Regions from separate parts of the Homo sapiens genome. Here region 1 is linked to region 2. Evidence: promoter capture Hi-C in 16 types of primary human blood cells and fetal thymus (Javierre and others, 2016). All regions are on one chromosome and are shown on one strand. The core of a region is centred on a gene start or on the middle of the fragment in contact, and the rest is flanking DNA. Distances in the headings are between cores, read along the strand shown.

Region 1 (7,197 bases), core at 2,513-5,012, 940 kb before region 2:
TCTGCCAGGCAGATTAAATCTTTGAATTATTTAATTCACAAAAATAGCAACTATTTACTAGATTCTATTAATAACATTTCAGAAACATGAATAGTAAATCATTTGCTAAATACATACCACTGCCTACTATGTGCCAGACATTATATTATGTATTCAAATTATGTAAGGAAAACTTTGCAAAGAATTCCTTAAAGAAAAGTAATTTACAGTGTAAGTAATTTGGATTTAGTTTCCGAAATATGTTGTTTTAAAAAGAATTAAAAATATCTCTTCTATTTGTTATTCAGTGCTGCCTGGTAGCAGATATCTAAACAAGCATTAAACTATTTGTGATGGCTGGGTGCGGTGGCTCACACTTATAATCCCAGCACTTTGGGAGTCCGAGGTGGGCGGATCACGAGGTCAGGAGATCAAGACCATCCTGGCTAACACTGTAAAACCCCGTCTCTACTAAAAATACAAAAAAATTAGCCGGCCGCAGTGGCGGGCACCTGTAGTCTCAGCTTCTCGGGAGGCTGAGGAAGGAGAATGGTGTGAACCCGGGAGGTGGAGCTTGCAGTGAGCTGAGATCGTGCCACTGCACTCCAGCCTAGGTGAAAGAGCAGGACTCTGTCTCAAAAAAAAATAAAAAAAACTATTTGTGACACACTTCTGTTCTCAATTAAAAATGACTTTCAAGGTTATAAATGTGATTGCCAGAGCCTTAAAAGTACATATGGATCTAATGAAGAATTTCAAATAAAGAGCACTCCAAAACTTACTTTGTGCAATTTCTTACTGAATATTCACCATGGAGGACGGGGGTAAACCCAATGACTATTTTCTGATTAAAACTTACTCCTCAGCCACTCAGTTTTCAAAAACTGACCAGAAACATGTAAAACATGAGGATAATCTAGTTTCCAAAATATGTAAAGCTTAAGTCAGATTTAAAATTAAATGCATATGAGCACTGAGAAATATAGTTTCTAAAATATACCTTTAAAAGAGTCTGTAAAAGTTTTCCTTCGAGTCTTATTTTACAAAAACATAAATTTGAGCAGATTATAGTCACCTACCCACTCCTAGGATATCTAAAACAGGGCTCTTTTACTGCCTAAATAGGTGGCAAATGAATATATGATTAGATGTTTAAATCTAAGTTCATCTCAATACATCTCATTTTCATGGGGCAGAAGTAATAATTCCTGTACAATTCTGTAAATCAATATATAAAGCTATACTTATTTAATTAAATTATTCAGTTCCTCAATCAGACTATCCAGTGGCTATTGAACTGGGCAGCACAGACAGGAACATTTCTACCATCACAGGAAGTTCTACTGGACAGCACCACCATAAAGTTTTAGGAATCAGCCGGGCACGGTGGCTCACGCCTGTAATCCCAGCACTTTGGGAGGCCAAGGCAGGCGGATTACGAGGTCAGGAGTTCGAGGCCAGACTGGCCAACACGGTGAAACCCCATCTCTACTAAAAATACAAAAATTAGCCAGGCATGGTGGCACATGCCTGTAATCCCAGCTACTTAGGAGGCTGAGGCAGGAGAATTGCTTGAACCCGGGAGGTGGAGGTTGCAGTGAGCCGAGATTGTGCCATTGCACTCCAGCCTGGGCAACAAGAGCAAAACTCTGTCTCAAAAAGCAAAAAAATAAATAAATAAATAAAAATAAAGTTTTAGGAATCTTTGGTAGCTACAGGTGTTCTGCTATAAATATGAAGATTGGTACATGATCATTTGGATCACGATTCATTCTTAAGTGATTAATTCAAAGCTCCTGGGTAGATATGTGAAATAAACTAGTAATGCAAACCCTCATTATTAAATTTTGAAAAACACAATTAGGCAGGAGGGTTCCAAAATAAGCCATGTGCCTAATAAATATATTGTTGACTGGTGGGACTAGCTTTGTAAAGGCAGGTTGTATCTTATTCACCTCTGTACTGTCAACTACTTGTCCCATGCCTGGCACAAATAGGTGCTTAAAGAATGTTTGTTAAAGTAAAAGGAGCTGCTAACCTGCTTCCTCATTTTGTTTCACAATAACTGAACCTCCCAACTTAAGTCTATGAAAAGAAAACACCCAGAAGAATCATTTTTTAAAAGATAATTGTATGATAATACCTTTTTCCACAAAATTCAAATACAGAGTGATCTTTTGTCCTAAATCATCCACTACTTCTTTTCCATTGAGGGTAACATAGGCTCTCTTAGATTCTTCTGTAGTTCTGTATCTTGCAAATGAGTACGGCTTGTTAGGTGGCATTAAGAGAGCATCCACCAGTCCACATTTCTCTAAAACCGGGAGCAGCTGGTTCCGACTCACACCATTACCCAAACCACCATTGGCAACAACCAGGCTCTTAAAAAACAAACAAACAAACAAAAAGAAAGTAACATGAGCAACTGATACCAACCCATTTGTTTTAAAATAAGATTTTTTTTAAAAAAGATGTAATTAAGAAAAAAAAAGCATTTCCTTGTAGTGGTTGTTTGGTTTGCTAATTTCATACAAAGTATGTAAACCAATTTACTAAAAATTTGGGGAATAAAAAGGACTCCTATATTGTAAATTGTGTTGTTTAAATAGCCAATTTCACAAAATATTCATTTCTAAATGACCATAAATGCAAATTAAAACATGACTATTATTCAGAAATATAAATTTAACATAATGAAAGAGGTGGAGAGGAGAAAGGACAGTTACATAACACTTGCTTTTTGGCAAGACTGTTCTATAAGCTTTTATCTACTCAATCCTCATTAACATAATCTTCACAACATATTGAATTTATTTGGGTAATATCAGCCCAATTTCATAGAAGAAGATCTGACAAATTAGGTTAAGGTGGTGATTAGGGGTGGGTTTAAACCTATTTCTGTCCGTTTCCAGGATCCGCACTTTTAATATAACCATTATACAATGTTTACTAAAAATTAAAAGTAAAGGTACTATTACCTCAAAGAAAAACCAATTATAGCTTCTATTGAACATAATTAGGAAAAAATTTTCCTCTAAGGAAATTCAGACTAAGTAATTCAGTCAGTTCACAATGAAAACTTTTTCCTTTGTAAGTTTCACGATTACTTCCTGCTGTTTGCATAGTCCTGCACTAAACTTTATTCAAGGAAATTTTGCAGGGATGAAAGAGGAGTCTCTTATTTTTATTCTGATGTTCATGGTCTAGCACCCATATAGTCTCTATACTTAACCATTCTATACAATGTAAAGATTTTTAATTTATGTTCTATGACTTCTAAAAACATTTCAATATAACAAAAGAAAGCCATGGATGGCCTACTCTCATCAATTTCTTCATTTATACCAGGTGTTGATGACGTTTTTCTGAGAAGAGGTAGATAGTAAATATTTTAGGCTTGGCAGGCCATAAAAGTTTCTGTCAGATAGTCTTAGTATTATTTTTTAACACTTTAAGAATGTAAAACTCATTATTTTGGTCACAACCCTGATTTAGTCTAAGGACAGTAGTTTGCCAACCCTTAATTTATACTAAGCTCAGTGATAGTACATTGTGTATTGGTTTATTACACAAAATAAGAATACCTAGAACTTTGTTTGAAAAGGATATAAAAGAATTATTATGAAATTGGACAATAAGGAAAGTAAAACTGTTTTGTCATGGGACAGCCAGTACTTTGTATGCATGCAAGCATATACATACATAATAAACAAGCCCACTAATACAATACTATATGATATGGAGTAAAATGGAGTCTCAGATGGCTTGCCCTGGACCTCACTTAATGAGGTTTATTAATTAAAATACCAAAATAACTTGGTTATATGTGGCCATAGTTGCAAAAACATTCCCATATTCCTAAATCTATGGAAGAGCAAAGGTTTCATTGGTGTTGAGGGTCCACTACCCCATCTAGGAATGGAAGATGATGAAGTATGACTTCAGGAATACTAGAAGTCCTCTAAGATGCCGTCTGAGTGTTTTGTGGGCAACTCTAAAGGTAAACCACACAAAAACAAGTGCGGTAGAAGAGGAGAGGAACTTATTTTCCATTAAATGTGAGATACATATAATTAAATGTCATAACTAAATGTAATATAATTAATGCAATAATTAAATGGAACTATTATTTTATTTATAATTGTTCAAGCAATTTTCTAAATAAGGAGGAGTATGTATGAAGTAGAGAATGTGAATTTTTTTTAAGTTATCTTTGGTCCTGACAATTTGAGGATCATTGCTCTAGAAAAATCTGTAATGCCATAAATTTGTACAAAGGAGCCTAAAATTATAATACATCCGATATGGTTTGGCGTGTCCCCACCCAAATCTCATCTTGAATTTTAGCTCCCATAATTCCCACATTTTGTGGGAGGGACCCACTGGGAAATAATTGAATCATGGGGGCCATTTCCCCTATAATGTTCTCGTGGTAGTGAATAAGTCTCATGAGATCTGATGGTTTTATAAGGGGTTTCCCCTTTCGCTTGGCTCTCATTCTTTCTTGCCTGCCGCCATGTAAGCCAGGACTTTCGCCTTCTGCCACGATTGTGAGGCCTCCCCGGCCACGTGGAACTGTGGGTTCATTAAACCTCTTTCTCTTTAAAAAATTACCCAGTCTCGGGTATGTCTTTATCAGCAGCATGACAACAGACTAATACAATATCATTAAAACAATATTTGCTCTCCCCTGGAAAGATAAAATATAATTAGAGGTCCATCTACAATTTTATTCTTTTCCTTTAAGAATATGGAGAAAAAAGAAAGCCTAAATAAAATGCTACTTTGGAAGCCATGAAGGACATCAAAGCTTCTAGAGATCCTAAAGAAAAGGCAGACCCAACCAGAAACAAGCTTCAGAGGGGTCAAAGAAATGGAGCCTATTTTTTTTTTCTTGCTACTTCTCTTCATAAACCCTGTAAGGAAAGGAACACAAGTCACTCTTGGAAAGTGATGAGAGCAGTGTATGTCAGTTTAATCTTCTGAATGTCTCACAGCCTCAGTGGCTCTTGACTGAAACAGTAAAGTGTATGCAAACATATTAATTCTAATCTATTATCTATTTCATCCTTGCTATAGGAATGTGGCTTAAATTCTCTGAAGACATTAATATTTAACTCCAAGTATGGGCCTTTTACCTCCTAAATTCAAATGTGCCTCAACAGACTGCTCATTCTCAAGCTATGATGTTGTACAGAAGACAGCATAGTAAGCATTAAGGCAAGAGTATTGGTCTGAGAGTTGAGAGGCCTAAGTTTTAATCCCTGCTCCACCTTCTCAATTGTATGTCCACCCCTCAATTAAATGATATCTAAAGCTTACTTTCTACTTTTATTCTATAACTTTATGAGCCAAAAAGATAAGAACTCCTTATATTCATGGAGTAATTTAATGTCCAGTAAGTACAATTAGATTCTCTGGAATCTAACAATCTAATGGGGTTAAAAAGGTATGCAATACTATGCCCTGCTTAAAAATGAAGAAAGCTGAGGTCAGAGGATACTACTACTCGTGTCCAGAAAAGCTAAGAGTTAAACTGAGTTCTCCTAATTCATAACCCAGGAAATCTCACGATCCTCACATTTATCATCTCATTTAATTATTGTCCGCAGATAATGAAAAGACTTTGTTAATAAGGTCTAATAAAATAAAAATGTTTAACAGCACATAATCAAAATACTTTATAAAACAGGTTAAGGTTGGGAAGAGAAGAACAAGGGCTGTAGTAGGATATGGAAGATCTAGCTTTAAGTTTCTATTAGCTACTTACTAGCTTATATCAATGGAGACATATCATAACCTCTCAGAACTTTAGTTTTCTCACCTATCTCATAAGGACTTCTAGGGAATTAAATATAATAATGAATATAAGTATGCTTAGGAAACTGAGAAACTTGCACAGTATTATTATTAATATATAACTACAACCTCTTCTAGTTCAAACAACAAAATAAATAGAAATGCAAACTATAGGCTATGGACCAAAATAGAAAGTTAGCAGTTCATATCATATGTACCTCTAATATGGATGTAACACATGACTGAACAATTACAGCCTTAGGCAATTATTAGCAAATATTAATATAATACATTAACATGTCAGTACATTTACATTCTAATAATAATAGTAGTTTTAGGTCACCTGAGTGGCATAGGATACTGTCTCAATGCCTTCATGTCTCAGCAAAGTATGCTTGGCTTTAATCTGTTTCCTTAAGAACTTCTTCTCAGTTTTACTGAGTTTGTAATTACTTTGATGGTTGCTGTCCATAGCAAACTGTAAAAAAACAAGACAGTAAAAAAGTCAACCTTAAGAGTCCTGAAGGAACAATTATAATGATGTTATTCATACATTCTATAGTTTATCAATATTTCTGTGACAATTTTTTAAAAATGCTTCATTTACCTTGTACCAACTAAGAGAAGTGAGAACAGATAAATAAAAAATGAACAAATATCTAAGAATATCTAATAGCATAGCTCTGATGGTTCTAAAAAATGTTCCAATGTGGTAGCTCCATTAAGTGTGCTATTTTACTCATAGGTGATGAATTCTTTACTTATGAGGTCCTAAGTAAAATGTGCCATACACAAATTTCACAACTATAACGTAAACCAAGGCAAGGAGCAGGCAGGGGAGCGGTGGGGGGAGAAATAACACACAAAAAATTAGCAGACTCTACAGTATGATTCCATTTACATAAAGGTCATAATCAAAAAGTAAGCCATATATTATTTAGAAATACATACATAGCAGTGCCAAAAAAAAAAGCAAGGAAATTATAAACACAAAATTCAGGAGAGAGGCTATTTCTGTGGGTGAAAGGAAAGGAAATTAACATGAAAGTGACACATAGGAGCATCAAAGGGTGTTTCTTCAGTTACATGGTAGGTGTAGGTGTTTGTTTTACTATTTTAAAAACTGTATGTGTCATATATTTTATATCTACAATTTTTTAAATAACAGAATCCCAAAGAGGTCTCTATAATCACACCATCCAAATCAGCACCCAATATCATGCTTTATCACACTTTATCACAGTAGTCTTTTATTTTGTTCACAAAATGTAACATAATTTGTGATGATTCATCTGTTAGCTTAACTCCTCCATCATGATATAAATCCCAAGAGAGCAGGAATGCCAGCACATAGTAGTTGCTCAATAAATATTTGATGGTAGGGCTAAATGAATAATAAATGAGTGAATACACACAGTC
Region 2 (6,955 bases), core at 1,318-3,817:
AGAGATGGAATCTTGCTATGTTGCCCAGGCTGAGAAGTCTTTCTAAGACTAAAAAAGGTAAAAAAAGAAAAGTCACAGATCACAGGGGTAAACCATGCAGAATCATAAATGTAACTTTCCTTCTGTTAAGATATTTAATAGAAACTGTCTGTAAACTTTTTCGTTTGTTTAAATATATTTATGTATATATAATATATGTACATATAAAACATATACACAACTTTAAGTCATGTATCATTTGGATTTTAACTGAGAGTCTTTAACATACATTAGAGATTGACAAACTAGCTAATCCAGCTCAGTGCCTGTTTTTGTAAATCCTGTAAGCTAACAATGATTCTTATATTTTTAAAATGGGGATGGGCATGGTGGATTATGCCTGTAATCCCAGCATTTGGGGAGACTGAGGCAAGAGGATCCCTTGAGGCCAGGAATTTGAGGCTGCAGTAGCTATGACTGTACCACTGCACTGCATCCTGGGTGACAAAGACCTTGTCTCTTAAAAAAAAAAAAGGAGGAGGGGGGTTGGAGAAAAATCAAAATAATAATATTCTGTGACTTATGGAAAACTATATGAAATTGAAATTTCAGTGGCCATAAAAAGTTTTATTGTAACATAAACGGGTTTGTTATATGTCCATGGCTACAAAGCACAGCTGAATAAATGTGAGAGATGATATCACCTACAAAGCCTAAATTATTTACTATCTGGCCCTTTAAAGAAAAAGTTTGTGAAACCCTGATATACACACATGCGTTTCTGTCAATAGAGTCGGAATTATTTTACCTAAATGCATATCATGCATATGAAACCAGTTGTCTGAGTATTTAGGGTCTAACTGGTAGACACGTTATCAAAGCAATGCCCAAAGACAACTTCAGGAGTGGTGTTCTGAATCAAATGTAGAAAACAAGCCACTGAGGTAGTTAAGGGAGAGGCAGATTCTTGCCTCAGCTCAAATTTCTCCAGTGGCTCTCTTTTATCTAGTTATAAAGTCATTTGCTTGGCATTCAAGGCGCTTGAAGACCAGAGGCTACAATCAACCAGGCTTTTCCGCTCAGTATCATTAAATTACAGTACTTATTTTCCCGAACACCACGGTCTCCTACGCCTCTGTGCTTCTGCACATGCCATGGCGTCCTTCTATATGCCTGCCCAGCAAACCTTCTCATCCTTCAAGTCTCTGCTCCTGAAATCTTCCTGGATTTCTCCAGTCTCTGGCAGTGCTTCAATGTTGCCACTGCACTCTGTACATACCTTCAATTATCTTGTACAGTGATCAGTTATTTGCATGTCTTTGACCAACAGACTGTAAGTTCCTTGATGGTCAGGCATTGTCTTTTCATCCTTAGATTCCCAGCAGAATTACCAAACACAGAAGTAGACATCAAAGAAGTATTTCTTGAATGAATGAAATTTTAAAAATCATTAAATCTAAAAGTGAATTATGTTTGGTTCCTAAATTCTCTGCTTTGCCCAGCTGTCAAGACCCCCTTACCCCTTTCCCAAGTTGGGACACACTTCTGGCAGCTATGTTCCCAGCTGGACTAGCAGGGGCAGAGGCACTGGTTTATTCTAATTGTCTCTTCGCTGATACAACAAGGTGCTAGTTGGCCAGAGCCCCAAATTATACATTAGCAAATCCTGACTGACAACAGCGTGAAACCAGCAGGACAAGTTTTAAGAAGTTGCAAAGGTTAAGACGTGAAGGACAACGTGGGAGGAGGACCGGGCAGAAAGGGATTCAGGACGAGATCCATCTCACCCTCCGTGGAGGGAAAACCGAATGATTTCTACTGAGTTTCCCTAGTTCCTGTAATCTGCTTTCAAAAACTCAGAACTAAAAAGGAAACAAAAAACTAACACGTAAACCCCTCCTCCTTCCTACGGCTCTGACATTTCCTCTGCGTAGGATTTCGTTGCTCCAAACCCACCAGGCCTAAGCCATGTAATCCGACGCGATCCGTCGGCTTGATGACTCACCACTGGAAAGCGCTCCCTGCAATCCCTCACAGTTCAGACAACTAAGTCCGAGATGGAAGGCAACGTGTGACTCACGGCACACTCCTTGTAACGCCCGGGCGCCGTCCATTCGCAACATCAGTCCCTGCACATTAAATGCGGAAGGGCCCTTCAAGTTCATTCATTCATTCATTCCACAAACTTTCGTGGTGATTTTTGCCCGCTTTGAGTATGGGCGGGAGGAGGGAAGAGGAGCTGACCAGACCCAAAAAGGGGCGACACACGCCGGGGAGGGACGCCACGCAGGCCGCGGGCGGACTCCCGGGCGGCGGGGACGCGCGGGGACCCGGCCGCGGGACGAGGGAGGCCGGCGGCTGGACACTACCTGCGGGAGAGCGAGTGAGGTTCTGGCCCTCCGAGTTGACCGCCTGCAGGTAGAAATAGCGGACCGGCAGGACGACGGCCGCCTGCAGCCCGGGCCCCCACACCAGGCTCCGCGGCGCGCTGACCAGCACCTCCGGGGCCCCCGCGGCCACCAGCAGGGCGAGGCGCAGCTGCAGCAGCAGGGCCCGCGGGAGGCGGCGCATGGTCGGCGGGGCACAACTGCGGTCCAGCTCCGCGGCGGCGAGGAGGGGCCGGCAGCGCCGCGGACCGGGCGGGGACTGGGGCCCACCGCGGGGCGGGTCTTTCGGGCGGGAAAGATTGCGGCGCAGGCTCCCTTTCCCGCCCGCTGTCCCGCCTCGTCTCCCTCGGGCGGGAACGCGAGCCAGTGCCGCAATCACCCACTGCGCGCCCTGTAGGGGTCGACGATGGGTGCGCCCCTTCCTCCCCGCAGCCCCATAGGCCCCGTGGAGGAAAGGGGTGGAGAGGCCCGCCCAGAGACCGAGGCTGCGAGTGTGCGCTGGCTGTTGATTGCCAAGGCTTCAGGCACGCCTGGCCTCCACTTCCAGTGGTCTTTCCCTTTCTTTTTCTTCCTTCCTTTCCTTCTTTCTTCTCTTTTCTTTCTCTGTTTTTATACAGACAAGGGGGCTGGCTCTGTCGCCTAGGCTGGAGTGCAATGGCGCGACCACAGCTCACTGCAGCCTGGAACTCGTGGGCTCAGGAGATCCTCCCGCCTCAGCCTCCCGAGTAGCTGGGACTGACTGTAGGCACACGACACCACGCTGGCTAATTTAATTTATTATTATTATTATTATTATTATTATTATTATTATTATTACTATTACTATTTGTAGAGACGGGGTCTCCCTATGTTGCCCAAGGTGGTCTTGAACTCCTGGTTTCAAGCAATCCGCCCGCCTCGGCTTCCCAAAGTGCCGGGATTACAGGCATGAGCCACCGGGTCCGCCGCTCAGGTGTTTTTAAAGGACGTAGACCCGGTGGTGATTGTTGTGGGACGATGAAAGGGTCCGGCCCCAAGATCGATGTAGTTTAGGGAAATATCTTTTCCCAAGGAATGTCTCCGAGTTTACAAGATGAGCGCCAAGGTCACGCCCCCCGCCCTCCCTCACAGCCCTCTGTTCACAGCAGCACCGTTCTCTTGTGGCCGGTTTTGTTGCTTTTCTGCTTAGCAGCCTCCCTCACAGAACCGTGATCCCCCCACCCCACACATCCCTTTCCCCGCTTCCTCCCGCACTCCTCTTCTTCCAGCAGGTGTTTACAGAACATCCACGGAGTTTGGGCCAAGCCCAGAGTGAGGAGCTGGGCACTGGGGTGGCAGAAGACCAGGCCTTGCCTTGAGCCCTTGTGCGAGCTTTACCTCAAAGCCTCTGTAATCGAAGTGGGAGAAGGGGTGGTGGTGCGTGGTTGGTCTCAGCCACCTCCACCACTCCTCAGAAGATGAACGCTGGATCCAGGAAGAGATTGTCAAGGTTACTATCTGCCTCTCTTTTTTGATCATTTTATCCAATTTGTTAATGGATACAAATTTGTTAATGGATTGTTAATAGATCTGAATTTATTTAAAGCCAATAAAGATTCTCCTCTGGCTGAATGATCCAGAAGGAACTCACACCCCAGAATGGACACAGGATTTCTGCACCCTCTTGGGGGAACTTAATGCCCAAAACATCAGAGCCAGGCACTGGACAAGCCTTTGTCCGCCTCACGGCTTTAACCGTGCTACTCAGCATTCTTGCTGTGACCAAGTTTTACCAGGGCAAAATCTTTCCCACATTTTCACACTTCTCTTGACCTATTTTAGTAATGCTAAGCAGTGGTTATGGACAGTATTCTTTGTACTTTGGAAAGGTTTCAGGAACTGGTAGTCAGTTGCCGGTAAATTTTAGGGCTAAAGTGTAACATTACTTGGTATTACTTTCACTGATAAATTTTATTTTGTGGGGATGTCTCCTTGCTTTAAATAGAAAGCTTTGCTCTGTTCCAACTATCGCTTAAAAAAATTGTATGGAACACATTTTGCTCACACTCTTTCAAAATCTGACTTAAAACAATTTCCAGAGAAATAATCTGAGGTTTAGCCGGTACTGGATTATAGTAAAACATGGCCTAATAAATTACATAACATTTGGGTTAACACCCAGTATTTTTTTTTTTTTGAGAACACGTCAGGGAAGCCATATAATTGTACCTGAACACACTAGCGTTTAGCAATACTAAGCCTGCACCAACCTGTTTTCTTTCTCATCTTAACCTGTCTCCAAAGAGTATATCTCTTCAGAGCAACCAGTGCTTTGACCAGACTCTTTATCATTAATCAAATTTCATTCATTCAACACATATTTATTAAATGCCCACCATATTTTAGATATTGTATTTTGACTTCAAAGTGCCTGTAGTTTAGTGGAGAAGAAAGACTAAGAGGCAATGTAAATAGCGTATAGGTGTTAAAATATGGGCCTCAAGAACTGCATGGTCTAGGATTTTATCCCACTTACAAACTAACAAGTTGGCCTGTTACTGTTTCATGGATGCTGTCAAAAGATACAACACTCCTGTATCAAAGAACTTTATTATTCACTGCAAAAGCAGTAGCCAGAGCTTTATGTTGGTTTGCTTTTTGTTCCTAAGCCTCCCAAGCCCTGTGGGGACAGTGCACACAGACTATGATGGATGCCTGAAGTGGGTTGCATTACAAGAGAGGAGCACTGAGCTAAAGGAATTTGCCTCTTTTAGGCTACACAGAATTAAGCCTGCTCTTTGAAGGTGGGGAGATGTTATCTCATCCCTCAAACGTTGCTTGCTACAAACACCGCCCAGAGAAATGGACTGATAAAGAGCTGGACATTGGAGTGGCAGAACAGCAAGAATGATCAGAGAAGTTCAAGGGCCATGGCAGAGAGCCTTTTCCAACATAGTACAGTGTACTTATACACTACATATGAAGGCCAGCTAATCTAGTCTTGGGAGAACCAAGAGAGGCTTCTGAAAGAGATGACATCTATGCCGAACCTTGAAGGTCAAACAGGAATCAGCCACATAAAGAGAAGGAGGAGAGCATTCTGGATAGCAGGAACATCATGTATAAAACTTTGAAGTAAACGATACACTCCGAGAAGTTTTTCATTCCCTTTCACATTCATCTCCATATTGAACTCCAATCTCAAACACCTATAATTAAAGTCAGTGTGTGACTCTGGAAGGTCTAGATTCAATACACTTCTGTGAATTGCAGTGGCCTCTGGAATCTTTACATTAATGTCACATAAAATTCACAGCTAATTATTGTCGACTCAGTTCATAACATTTCCACCTTTTCGGTAACTCTTCTTTTTTTACTCCACAGTCCGCCTGGTTAACAGTGAGGCTTTGTAACAGCATAACTTTAACTATGGCTACAGTTTATTGGCTCCTATTTTGGAAACTGACTCATGCTGAACTAATCCCCTTTCCCTGGGAGTTTAAAATCAAGGTTAGGAGATTTTTAACGTACCGACTGCTCTCCAACAGCAGCATTATAACCTTTGCTATTTTTTTCCCTTGTATTCTGAAAATAGAAGAGAAATACAGAAAACTCTCTGGGTTATGTATAGTGCACTAGAGTCTGGTACAGTTCATGAGCAGCGTCTCTATCTCTGGTTTCTGAGACATCCTTGCATCCTTATAATAAATTCCTCTTTAACTTTAGAAATTGTGTAATTTTCTTTCTTTAATTTTTATTTATTCATTTATTTTATTTTATTTTGATGGACTCTCGCTCTGTCAGCCAGGCTGGAGTGGCACCCAGCCACTCTCGATCTGTCACCCATATCTACAATGGCGAGATCTTGGCTCATTGAACCTCTGTCTCCCAGGTTCAAGCGATTCTCCTGCCTCAGCCTCCTGCCGAGCCTGCAGGTGCACCCCACCACACCTGGCTAATTTTTGTAGAAATTGTCTAATTTTCCATGTCACCAATGAATAAAAAAACGTACATAGGGTTAGACAAGATTAGATCCTATAAAATGCACAAAACTTTATTTTAATAATTTCAATAATATTTATTCAACCCACCCTTTATATCATGACTTTATGGCATGCATTATGCAAGGTATTGGGTATATAAACTCAGTCCCTGCCCTTCCATGTATTACAGTCTATAGGGTACATTTTAGACTGTGAGACTATTGGTTTAAATATTAACTTCCATCCAGAACCAATTTCCTCCAAAACATTCCACCTTGAAACAATCAATTGTGCCCAGATTCTTAGGGTTGTATAAGAACATTGATTCTTCCACAGTCAACATATGGCCTGAAGGGAGGGGATGTCAGTTTCCAGAGCAAAGAAAAAGGGTCTGCTGGGCAATCATATCAGTACCTACTACATCTCTTCAAAACATTTCTAGAATGGAATTGTAGTTTCCAGACTGGAAAGATGACATAATCTAGAAAGGATGATTGGGGAAAAGAACATGGGCCTAGAGGGAAACTTAGTGCTGGCATTTATATTATTAAAACACAATGTTTTGTAGAATCAAGTATGATCATCAATTTTTTTTTTTTGAAACAGATTCTCACTCTGTCACCCAGACTAGAGGGCAGTGGCACAATC

The links. Contacts are between HindIII fragments. The CHiCAGO score rates a contact against its expected background, and 5 or more counts as called.
Region 1: a contact is called between a fragment that was not itself captured here and the fragment with the promoter of POGLUT3 in region 2, in 2 of 17 cell types (total CD4 T cells and naive CD8 T cells). The highest score is 6.1, in total CD4 T cells.

Annotation. Positions count from the first base shown.
Region 1 is chr11:107,554,644-107,561,840 of GRCh38, forward strand. ALKBH8 (alkB homolog 8, tRNA methyltransferase) reads right to left here. Exons shown (of 12, transcript NM_138775.3): 2 at 6,122-6,256; 3 at 2,123-2,360. The coding sequence starts at 6,250. Among named protein-coding and RNA genes, the nearest start is that of ALKBH8, 7.5 kb to the right of the region's middle. The HindIII fragment of the contact is 2,049 bases long and covers 2,739-4,787 here.
Region 2 is chr11:108,495,817-108,502,771 of GRCh38, forward strand. POGLUT3 (protein O-glucosyltransferase 3) reads right to left here and starts at 2,568. Exons shown (of 8, transcript NM_153705.5): 1 at 2,349-2,568. The coding sequence starts at 2,550. It overlaps LOC112267909 (a long non-coding RNA gene), which reads left to right and starts at 3,245. Exons shown (of 3, transcript XR_007062880.1): 1 at 3,245-3,834. RefSeq lists a silencer at 2,201-2,720. The HindIII fragment of the contact is 8,220 bases long and covers 1-4,331 here.